Linked DNA regions of Homo sapiens: regions 2 and 3 are each linked to region 1. Evidence: promoter capture Hi-C in human tissues and cell types (Jung and others, 2019). All regions are on one chromosome and are shown on one strand. Each heading gives the region's core, a stretch centred on a gene start or on the middle of the fragment in contact. The rest is flanking DNA. Distances are from core to core; before and after follow the strand shown.

Evidence for each region. Contacts are between HindIII fragments. The study calls those that stand out against the background at their distance.
Region 2: a contact is called between a fragment that was not itself captured here and the fragment with the promoter of HTRA1 in region 1, in 1 of the 25 tissues and cell types used here (hippocampus).
Region 3: a contact is called between a fragment that was not itself captured here and the fragment with the promoter of HTRA1 in region 1, in 4 of the 25 tissues and cell types used here (bladder, dorsolateral prefrontal cortex, hippocampus and 1 more).

What each region holds. Positions count from the first base shown.
Region 1 is chr10:122,459,919-122,463,588 of GRCh38, reverse strand. It overlaps HTRA1 (HtrA serine peptidase 1), which reads right to left and starts at 2,036. Exons shown (of 9, transcript NM_002775.5): 1 at 1,465-2,036. The coding sequence starts at 1,936. It overlaps HTRA1-AS1 (HTRA1 and ARMS2 antisense RNA 1), which reads left to right and starts at 2,184. Exons shown (of 3, transcript XR_946382.3): 1 at 2,184-2,640. The HindIII fragment of the contact is 7,877 bases long and covers 1-3,670 here.
Region 2 is chr10:122,409,401-122,413,070 of GRCh38, reverse strand. PLEKHA1 (pleckstrin homology domain containing A1) reads right to left here. Exons shown (of 12, transcript NM_001001974.4): 6 at 26-151. Among named protein-coding and RNA genes, the nearest start is that of MIR3941, 5.7 kb to the left of the region's middle. The HindIII fragment of the contact is 5,773 bases long and covers 1-3,670 here.
Region 3 is chr10:122,499,302-122,502,971 of GRCh38, reverse strand. All of the region lies in intron 3 of HTRA1 (HtrA serine peptidase 1), which reads right to left. Among named protein-coding and RNA genes, the nearest start is that of HTRA1, 40 kb to the right of the region's middle. The HindIII fragment of the contact is 4,731 bases long and covers 1-3,670 here.

The sequences.
Region 1 (3,670 bases), core at 787-3,286:
GGAGGCTGCAGTGAGCCATGATCACACCACTACACTCCAGCATGGGCGACAGAGGGAGACCCTGTCTCTTAAGAAAAAAAAAGAGAGAGAGAGGAGCAACTGCCTCCTCGTTTGACCAAATGAGGTCACAGAGGTAACACACCCGGCACACAGACTGGGTGCTCAACAGACGTGTGCTATCATCATGCCCCTTCTCGAGTCTGCAGGATCACTTCTCTCCGGGACAACTCTCTACTGCCTGACTAGGCTGAGTTTCCCGAGGGCTGTGCTCCTGTGTTGGTGAAATACGCAATCTCGAATTTCACCCAGTTCGGCTCTGGCATCTTCCCGTCCACGTAAGCCAAACTATGCTAAGCCCTAGTTGGTCACACCGAACCATATTCCTATAAAGTAAACTCTAGACCAGTCCCTCTGCACTGTGCTCCCCTATGCCCCTCTCCTGGCACTGCCCGTGTTGAGGAGGCAGCACTGGGGTCCGGCAGCAGCGGCACGGCTGCGCCCAAGCGCACTGCCAAGCCCCGCTGTCTGGTTCCTACAACGCGGGGCTGGCCGCTGCTGAACTCGATATTATTTTTCCACATGGCCTCTGCCTGAAGATGAGGAGCATCTCTCCGGAAGGTCCCGCGAGAGAGTTAGACATTGCTCCATTCCACTCCTTCCCCCATCACCACCGTCTCCCCTGCCAGAACAGGTCCTGTGTGCGGCTGTAGGAACAGAGGGGTAGACTTCTTCCTCATCACTAACCCGGTCCCTTCTCCGCCTCTGCAGATTTCGTGATCCAAAGCCCGATTCAGCTTATTCAAAAGGAGCCACTTTCATTTTTGTAGGGCTGGCTCAAAACGAGGAAAGCAAGACAGGCAGCAACGCCGCCGAAACGAGAGCGGTGCCAAACCGTTCCCTGCTCGGGGTAGACTTTTTGGAGAAACTCCGGGGCGGGCCGGCAAACACTGTTCCTTTCCAAAAGAGTTACATACAGTTTTCACTGAGCGGTCCCGTGATCAAAGCAGTGAATTTTAAAGGGGACGGAGGACGTAAATAGAAGAAAAAGCAACCGAAATGACTTCTTGTGGTCCTGAAGCCGCTCTGCGAGGCGCCAATTCCCAGTCCTGAACTTCTCTCCTTCCTTTATGCCCCCATTCCTCTTATTTGTCCTGGGGTCCCCGCGCTGTGTGGTTGCCCTCAGGGCACTCCATGGCCGGTCGCCCGGCGTCTCGAGCCCCAGAGTGCAGGCCGGGCGTACTGGCATCGTCTGGGCGCAGAACCGGCCCCGGGCTGGGCGCGAAGCTCGGTTCCGAGGCAGCCCGCGGAAATCCGCCACCCCGGGGCCCACCTGCCTGTCCCCGAGAGTTGCCCTGGCCACCCCACAACGCTTCGCTGCCCCTCAACCTGCCCACCAGTCCCGCAGAAGCAGGTCCGAGCTGGGATGGAGAGAGTGGGGAGCTGCCCAGGAGCGCGGCGGAGTACCTTGGCCGCAGGCTCCGCGCTGCAGGACGATGACCGGCGGCCGGTGCAGCCTCTCGGAGCGGCGGCTGGCGGCGCGCAGCTGGCACAGGTTGGCGTAGGTGTTGGCGTCGCTGCCGCACACCGGCTCGCTGCTGGCGCACACACAGAGGCCGGCCTGCGCGCGCCGCCGCACCGTGGCCGAGGCTGGCACCCCGAAGGGCACCACGCACTGCAGCCCCTCGCCGCACGGGCCCTCCTGCAGGCCGCACGCGGCGCCCTCGGGCGCGCCGCACACCTCGCAGCAGCCGCACGCGTCCCGGGCCCGGCCGCCCTCGCAGTGCTCCGGCTGCGGCGGGCAGCGCGCCGGCTCGCAGCGGTCTGGGCACCCGGCGGCCAAAGGCGCCGAGCGGCCGGCCCGGGACAGCTGCGCCGAGGCGGGCGCCGCCAGCAGCAGCAGCAGCAGCGGGAGAAGAGCGGCGCGCGGGATCTGCATGGCGACTCTGGCGGCGGCGGCGGTGGCGGCGGACAGGGCGAGGGCCGGAGAGCGGCGCCGGGGAGAGTGCAGGAGGGCCTCGGGGGCAGCGGGTGCGAGTGCGCGCGGCCGCGCGGCCCAGCCCATTGGCCTCGCAGCGGTGACGAGCCGCCTTGGGGACGGGCACGGCGCCCGGGATGGGGGCTGGCCGGATGGCGGGAGGGAGGGCGGGCGGCTGGACCGGGACCGCCCGCGGAGGGGGCAGGGCGGGCGCGCCCGGGCACGGCGGTGCTGGCGGGGCGCGGGCGGGGCAGCGCACAGGCCGGCCCTCTCGCGGGACTCAGTTTCCCCGTCTGCGCGCCCCACATATTCGCTTTCCGCAGGTTCTCTCGCTGAGATTCGCGTCCTTCAAACTAATGGAACTTTGCAAGGGGGCCCTGCGGCGGCTTCGCGTGGGAGCGCCGGGGAAAGTTCCTGCAAATCGCCGGACTGGGGGCCCGCCCGGGAAGCTCGGACTGGGCCGGGCAGGGACTGCAGGGGCCTCTGCGCAGACCCGGGGCGTTGCGGCACCGCGGACCCCGGTCACGCGCTGGTTCTGCCCCCGGTACCCCGCACGCGGGACCCTGACCGCGGGGCCTCTGCGGCCGGACGAAGGCAGCGTCCGCGGAGCTGGCAGAAAGCCCGCGCCCAGACCCACAGTGAAGTGATAAAAGCAGAGAGCAGAAGTAATTCGAATAGAATCCTTCACACGTCTGATTCTTTTAAAAAGTTGTTGTGGGTGGCATGCGTGTCCGTATTCGCAGAGAGCCTAGGAAGCGGCTCGGCAGCTCGTAACTGGCGAGGGTGGAGCGGTCTCAGATGGGAAAGGGGTTTTCCCCTCTTTTGATTTTTCACCAAGTGCGTGATTATTTCAAAACACTTGTTATCAAAAATTTGATTTCCCACTGGAGAATCTTTGGTGCATCCGTTGGGACAGATGCGAGTCCGAGAGTCATCAGGAGGGCTGAGGGCGACCCTGGAGGTGGGTCTGGGTGCCCAGGCAGCACCAGGCCTGTGGGCAGTAGTCCTGGGTCCACACTGAGCAGATGGGCACAGCTCGTGTCCAAGGACCTGAGAGGAGGCCCTTCGTCCAGCCCTCATCCCGAACCCTCAAACCTCCACCCCCACCCTGGGCAGAGGCACCCAGGGTTGGGTGAGCCGGCAGAGCTGACTTTGGGATAGAGTAGCATGGGAGGGGGCTGGGGGCTTGGGGATTTTAATATTCTTCTGTATTTGGGTTGTTCCCTTGTGCACACGTTATTTTTCCAATACAAATAGTTTAAAAAGTAAACTCCAAATACCTATAAGCCCCCTCAAAGCACCTTCCAAATATGAACCTTGTTAATGCCCAAGGTCCAGAGGGGTCCCCCAGAAAGGCCCAGGAGCCTGGGGCATGGGAAAGCTGTCGGGGTCCCCATGCTGACTCCCTGGACTCCAAGCGATATTCCATAAAGCCAGGGCCTCCTGGCTGCGGGAGGGAGGCCTTGACCCAAAATCCATTCGGCCCTGGATACTGGAGAGGCAGAGGCCTCTGCTGATGAGAAGCCCTGAGTTCCTGGCTAGCTGTGGTTAACCACAAAAAATGCGGGGGGTGATGATTTTCGAAGTCCATCGGCAAAGAAAGACTCCCCACTGCAGTCCTGGGGCAGATGGAATTAAAAGGACACGTGGTGGTGAATAAATTGGTGATAACTTATTTTTGTCGAATTTCCTTAT
Region 2 (3,670 bases), core at 705-3,204, 50 kb after region 1:
CACAATAGAAGAGTTACTTAATTACCTGAGTGGGAGTAATGATGGGTACGCCACCAACAATATCAGTTCTGTAAGACACTTGCTTTTTCCCACATTCACCATGGCGACTTAGGTTATCAGAATTAGGCTGTGAGTCTGACTGCTTTGGTACCTGAAATAGTAAATAAAATGAATCATTTTGCAACCAGCATTATACATGTGAACCTGTTTTCTCGCAGAATTTCTAATTATTCATCCGTTTGCATACGGTTGACAGATACATATAAAAATTATAGTCCATGTATGTACTCCTTAAGTTATCACACTAATTTTTCTGTTAGAATAATATTTTATAATATAGCTATCACGTAATGAGTGCTTACTCGGGCAGGTACTAGTTCACACATTTTTCTCCTTTACTACTCCTGTCTACCCTATGCATAGGGGCTCTACCCCCACCTAAGAGGTAAGGAAATAGGCTCAGGGGCATTAGGGAATATAGATTCAGATCCTGACTATAATACATTCTAGCCAAGTGTGTGTAACTCTTCCAAGCCCAACTGCTGTGCTCTAGACCCTGTTTATTGGCACACTTACTATTGGCTTACAGCTCTTTGCTGTTTTCTTCCCTTTCTCCATTCCTACCCATGATTCTGGGATTGTGGCATATTCAGTCTTTCCTGGCTTCAAGACAGAGACTATTACCAAAACCATAGTGTATTCAATAAATGTTGAAAGACTCAATGGATGAATCCAAAGTCAGCAGAAAAAAGAATAGCAAAATTCTTAAAACAAATCAGAAGTTTCAAAACAAAACTTTTCATTAGAAATTTAAAGAAGGAATTCCAATACTTGGATCAATGATAAATCGTTCACAAGTACAGGAAAACAATGACTGTGGTAACAGCAGAATCTCACATTAACACCTCACTAAAGTGGATGAAAGAATCAGAGGTATCATAAATTTTTAACATATATTTTTGCTTTTCTTATGTGATCTATTCAGTAAATAAGGTACTCAGTTAATCATTATTTCTATCTGTAGACTGTTTAGCACATAGTCTGTATTTAAATTATACATTTTTAAGGCTGTGAATAAAATGTAATAAAATCTGCTCAGCATCAATTATAATGTTGAACATGATTTAGTCTTCTCCAATGATTTAAAGGGCACGTGGAACCTTGCAGTCTTTCAGAAACACTATGACAAATACTACTGACAATCACTGAAGTAGTGGTGTAGAAACATTTAACTTAAATAGTTTGCTTGTCATATAGCTAATTCCTGTTAATAGAGTACTGGTAGAACTACAGGACACCACTCACATTGTATTCAAAGGCTCAAACCGTTTATTAGTGTGATTCCAAAGCAGTGTGATTTCTCAAACTTTAGAGTGCATAAAGTATCACCCAGGAACATTATTTAAAACTTCAGATTCCCCTGCTTCGAACCCAGAAATTCTGACTCAACATATCTATAGTGCAGCCCAAAAACCTGCACTTTAAGCAAGAACACCAGACATTTTTGAGGCAGGAGTTTCATAAACCACACTTTGAGAAACACTGCTCTAAAACCTGTGCTCTTCTTCCATACGATGCTACTCCCACCAGATTTGTAGAAAAGAGGGTATACAATGCAGATAAGGATTTGCAAAGCAGCTTTCTGCAAAATATTGAGCAAACATGGTCCATGTGTATATGAAAGGATGCTGAGCTACAGTAAGTCCCAATCCACACAAATGTAATTTATGGATATAATAAATGACTTGTCTCTTAAGTGACTTCTAAAACTCCCTCTCCCTTCCTTCTCCACCTGCCTCCCTTGAAGAGGTTTCTCTCAGGCCCCAGGCCCAATCCTCCAGCCTCTGGTTCGTATTCATACTACAATGCCCTCATCCGCAGAAACAAAAGAGAGAGAAAACAGGAAAGAGAAGAGAATCCTGAATACCTCTTGAATTCTTCTAAGAACTTGCACACTTTGGAGTGCTTTTTAAAGACAATAAAATAATGAAGAGAATTTTCCTTGTCAAATAAAATTAGGATAGTATACCCTGGAATGATTTGCTAGGGAAGCCCATTATATTTTCTAATGAATAGCACCATATATTTCAATTATTCTGACAGAGAAAATATGGCCCAGTTATCTCATTGAGAAGAACAGCAACTAGCATTAAGAGAACCTGAAACCAGAGAGAAAACAATCTATTCAACTAGATAAAATGAGAGGTGCTGCTAAGAGGTGACCCATAAGAAAACTAGCAGTTATTCTCTCAAGAAGTTTAGTCAGACCTGGGAATTATTAGGAAAAACCTTTAAAATCATTCTAAAAAATACCGAAATTTATATTGGTTTTTCCATTTTTCTTAAATTACAGTATATTAAAAGTCCTTGCTTATGCTGTTAAGCTCACTGCTTCTAATTTGTCTTTATAATAAAATCAAATGCTAGTAGTTAACTTAGAACTGCATTTTACTATAAAAATTATCTAACTTGTAATCATCTTATTCCCTAAGAACAAGAAAAGTTCAAGCAAAATACCCATGAACATGGATAACTCCTCTAAAAACAATATGTACCTCTGTAAAACTTGGTCTAAATTCAGCCATTAAGATAGACATTTTCAGGACACACCCCTGCCCCAAACCATCCAACTGTCCAATGAAAATCAGAAAAGTGATCTCACTGGGCAGTTGGCACATGTCAGACACTGAATCCACTTGGTTTCTTTGTCTACTGCCTCTCTCCCTTTCCTTGGCTTTCTATCCTTTTTTATGTCCCAGCATTTTTTGTAGGAGATCTGAATGTAATCTTGGCAGGCATTTGCATGTGATCCTAGTAGTAGGAAATTCTAATAGTAGGAAAAGAAAAGGTAAAAATAACTAGAGAATAAAAAGATGAACAAGACAGATTTAAGTATTTATGAGTGAAATACATAAAAACGCTGCAGGTTTCTCAAAAGTTAAAGGGAAAGTTGATATTCAATTCACCAAGAATGAAAATATAATGTTGGGCTAGGCGCGGTGGCTCACGCCTGTAATCCCAGCACTTTGGGAGGCCAAGCTGGGCGGATCACTTGAGGCCAGGAGTTTTAAAACCAACCTGGACAACATGGCGAAACCCAGTCTCTACTAAAAGTACAAAAATTAGCTGGCTGTGGTGGCACACACCTGTAATCCCAGCTACTTAGGAGGCTGAGGGCTCAAGAATCACTTGAACCCCGGTGGCGGAGGCTGCAGTGAGCTGGGATAGCACCACTGTACTCCAGCCTGGGCAACACAGCGAGACTCTGTCTCAAAAAAAAAAAAAAGGATAAAAAGAAAGAATGAAATTGTCATAATGTTCAATTCACTGAGGATAAAAACGTGCAGACACAAACTCCTGGGTCTTACAATCTTTCTGAGAATTCTACATCTACTTGTTTCCAGTTTCTATTAAAAATATATCAAACTTGTGGAGTTTCTGCCACAAATTCAAAGTACTAATTTTTAGATTCAAATCGAACATTTATTTTTAAATTTTAAAAAAGACATGTTTAAAAATAATGGATCTCTGTTCAGGAATAAACCATATATATCTTAGACATTCCTTAATAATCAATAAGGGAACAGAAACCACCATATTTATGTTGTTTCCACTATATTTCCACTATATATATTTCCACTATAAATGAACAGTGGAAAGCATACTTTAA
Region 3 (3,670 bases), core at 418-2,917, 40 kb before region 1:
GACGGATGAAAAGGCCAGAGGGAAGAGGAGAAGAAAGAGGGCACGCGAGTCCCACTCCTCATGCCAGATCCTCACACTGCTGGGGGGAAAAGAAAATGCAAGTGTGGGCATGACTGCAGTGACGGGGCAAAAACAACCCATGCCTGCTCTCATAGAGCCCAGGCGGAGATCTCAGGTCCCCCTAAAAGATCTTGTAGCTCAAGTTTGGTGCAAAACCTTTGGGGACGACAGTCTTTCTGCAGTGAGCCCAGCACAGGCCAGTTCTCACAATCTCAGGAGCAGGAAGCCTGGGAGGCCAGAAGAAGAGAGGGGGCATCTAGAAGAAAAACGCCCACTGGCCCCCAGCCTGCAGGGACTCACAATGCTAAATAGTGTCCTCTTAACAGAGCCAGAAGTCTCTCAACAGAGGGACTTTAGGAAGACACAAATCCTCTAATGTCCTAGACGGCCATCCAGGTAGATGTAGAAACAGATCCAGTGAGGGTGTCAGAGTCCTGGCCATGGGCTCCAGGTCTCCCCACCATATCTATGTAAATTGCAAAGTCCTAGCCATAGGCAGGATGCTGACCAGGTAGTGGGAGTAATGCTAACACCTTGGAAGAGGCGGCCCACAGCATGATTAAAGATGGCTCTTAGTGTTCATGCATATTACAACCAACAGACAACAACAAGCAGCATCGTTTCACAAAACATTGCCTCCGTGAAAGAGAACTCTCTCAACAACCATTCAGTGAGTGTCTCCTATGAGCTTGGTGCAGGGAACATATGATTAAGAAAATCTGCCCTTGCCCTCTCGGCTTTTGTCTCATGGGCAGAGACACAAACAAGCCACCAGGACACAGAGCAGTAAGAAAACACAAAGTCCACCTCCCTCACCATGGGCAGCTCAGCCCAGAGTCTTCCATAAGGGCCAAACACAGACCAGCACTAAAAATAGTTTGTGTGTATCAATTAGGGTGTTTTCAACTGCAAGTGACAAAAAAAAAAAAAAAAAAAAAAAAAAAAAAAAACTCCAAATGGAGTATGTAGAGTAGATATCTGTCCAAGGGCTGGGTGGTACCAGGCTGATAACTCAAAGGCTCACAGACAGCATCAAGAACAAGGCTCCTTCCTTCCCTCCATCCAATCAACCTCAGCCTGTTCTCACAGCCACAAGACGGCCACCACCATTCCAGACATCACATCAAGACGTGACTGTGTCCATGACCATGCTGTGGAAGCATCTCTCCAGAAAAGCAAAGTCCCAAAAGCGCCCTGGCACCCTCCTCCTCGTAGGTCATCGGCAGTATCCAATCAAGCAGCGACCTCAGCACTCGTTGGAGGAGGGAACGTGGCTCCCCTGACTGCATTGGACCCTGCGAATTTGCCTGAGTCAGGAATGCGGTGGGGTCAGGGTTGGAACTAAAACAAACCCAGGGCTCTGCCAGCAGGGAAGGAAGTTGGAGGGTGGGCAACCATGAGTGTCATCCAAAGCCTGGGGAATATGGTTCATTTTAAGAGAGGATCCCAATACAAGCACCTAACAATGTTTAGAAAAGACTCTACAAGTCCATACTCCCTCATGCACATTTTTGTTTGTTTGTTTGCTTGTTTGTTTGTTTGTTTGGCAGGGTGGAGCAGGAGATGTCTGCTAATCTGCTTAAAAGGAAAGCAATGGTCACAGCAGTTCCATGGTGGTGACAGGCAGGTTCAGGTGATGGGAGCAGAATCTGGGCAAGGCAGGGAAATCACTCCCACGGCGCGTGTCCGGCATCTTCCCAGAGCTTCTCCCGCTCTGCCAGGTATGCAGCCTTCACGACCCACCACCCTGTGGATGGGCAGGATGGCTTCATAGCCGTTCTGCTGATGAGGGGACTGCAGGTCCCACAGCAGGTGGGGGTGGTACCGGGACTGGGACCCTCCCTGACCCCAACCTCCACTCCAGGTGTTCTTCTCACCAGCCTGCTCCCCACCTCCCAGATGCTCAGGGCACACAGAGGTCAGCGGGGAAACAGCTGCCCTTGTGCCCCGGATCACTCCACAGGGACAGGGGACCAGAGAGGGTATAACACAGAGCAGGGCAAAGGGGAAGTTTAGGAAGAACCCAAGCAGGGGCCCACCACGGGAAGGGAGGGGAGGTCTGTGCACGCAGCCTCGGTTTTGGGGGCACTATGTGTGGTGTGAGTTCCATAACTGAACCACAGATGAACCATAACTGCTGGAACTCCCCCAGGGCAGAAAAGTTGGGCCTGTGCTGAATGAGGCCCCCAGGTTGACAGCGCGCCTCAGGCTCATTCTCCAAGATCAACCAAGGTGGGGCAGAAGTGAAAACTTAGGCAAAACACCTATGTGTATATGCATACATGCACACACACGCACACACATTACCCCCTCAGGCTCCACGTATGCTGAGAGAACACTGTCCCAGACAGTAGGACATCTGGGCTGGGTCTTGGTCCTATATGAACTCAGTCTACAACCTTGAACCACTTGATTAGCTTCTCTGGATTGCGGTTTTAGCACCTCTAAAATTAGGGAGTTGAGCCCAGTGATCTCCAATGGTCATCTCAGCTCTGACAATTAGCTATTCTTTACGGAAAACCTGGTTGCTTTCCAAAAAATCCATTAGCAGACAATAGTTAAATGTAAGTAAGATCCAAACAGGCAACAGGGTCCCCAATAAATCCCCTTTTTCATACAACTCCCCAATGGGGTCAGATGATCCCCGCAAACTTATACTGCTGCAAGAGGAGGGGGCGTTCCTAGAATTCTCCAGATGCTGGCTTGGCCAGTAATCTTTCATAGAGGACTGTGAAAAGCAATGACCCATCGGTATTTCAGCTTCCTTCCATTCAGGGTTCTGCCTAGTAGCACTTGAGTGCTCATTCAATCTCATTCCCTGAAGCTTGGAGAAAAGAAAAATAAAAAAAAACCAATAACATCAAAACCAAAGAAAAAGTTGGCAACTCTTTTTCAACCTAATAAGCCAAGTCAATTACTTCTTTCTCTCCTTTGAAAATTACTAAGTGCTCTTGAGTTACAAAAATATTGTTGTTGCTGAATCTGCAGAATCCACTGCATCATTTCTGGAGGCTGGGACTTCTAGGCTGGTCCTGTGTTGGTTCAAGTTTGCTTCAAAGGCTAACATTGCAGCAACTGGCTGGGACTCAACTGAGTGATTCAATGTGCCTTCTGGAAACAGTTATGCTAACCTTTCATTTTCTTTAAAAAATATGCAATGGACAAAATAGCACATCCTCCATACCCAGCAAGAAACAGTGCTATAGAACTTGCATGTCTCCTAAGGAAAATCAAACCAGGCCGCAGAAGGGTTGTTTACGGGGGATGTCAGCATCCAAAGACTTGCTTGAGGGAGTGCGCCAAGCTGGGTAAGGAGGGAAGTGAGCACATGGGCAGGGGAGGAACTGTGAAAAAGGGCGGGTCAGCGGACTGTGGACTCAGATGAACCAAAGATTTGCTGACTTGAGCTACTAGGGGGCAGGACCAGCTACAAAATTAGCAGAGCCCAGTGCAAAATAAAAATGCAGGCTCCTTGTTCATAAAGCATACAGAAAGCACTGTTAAAGGTACTAAAATAGAAAGCTTTTTCCTTTCTTCCACATGCTGTCTCTCTCGACCTATCACAATGTTTTTGATTTGCTAGTTATTACTGTGGTTATTTATGGGACAG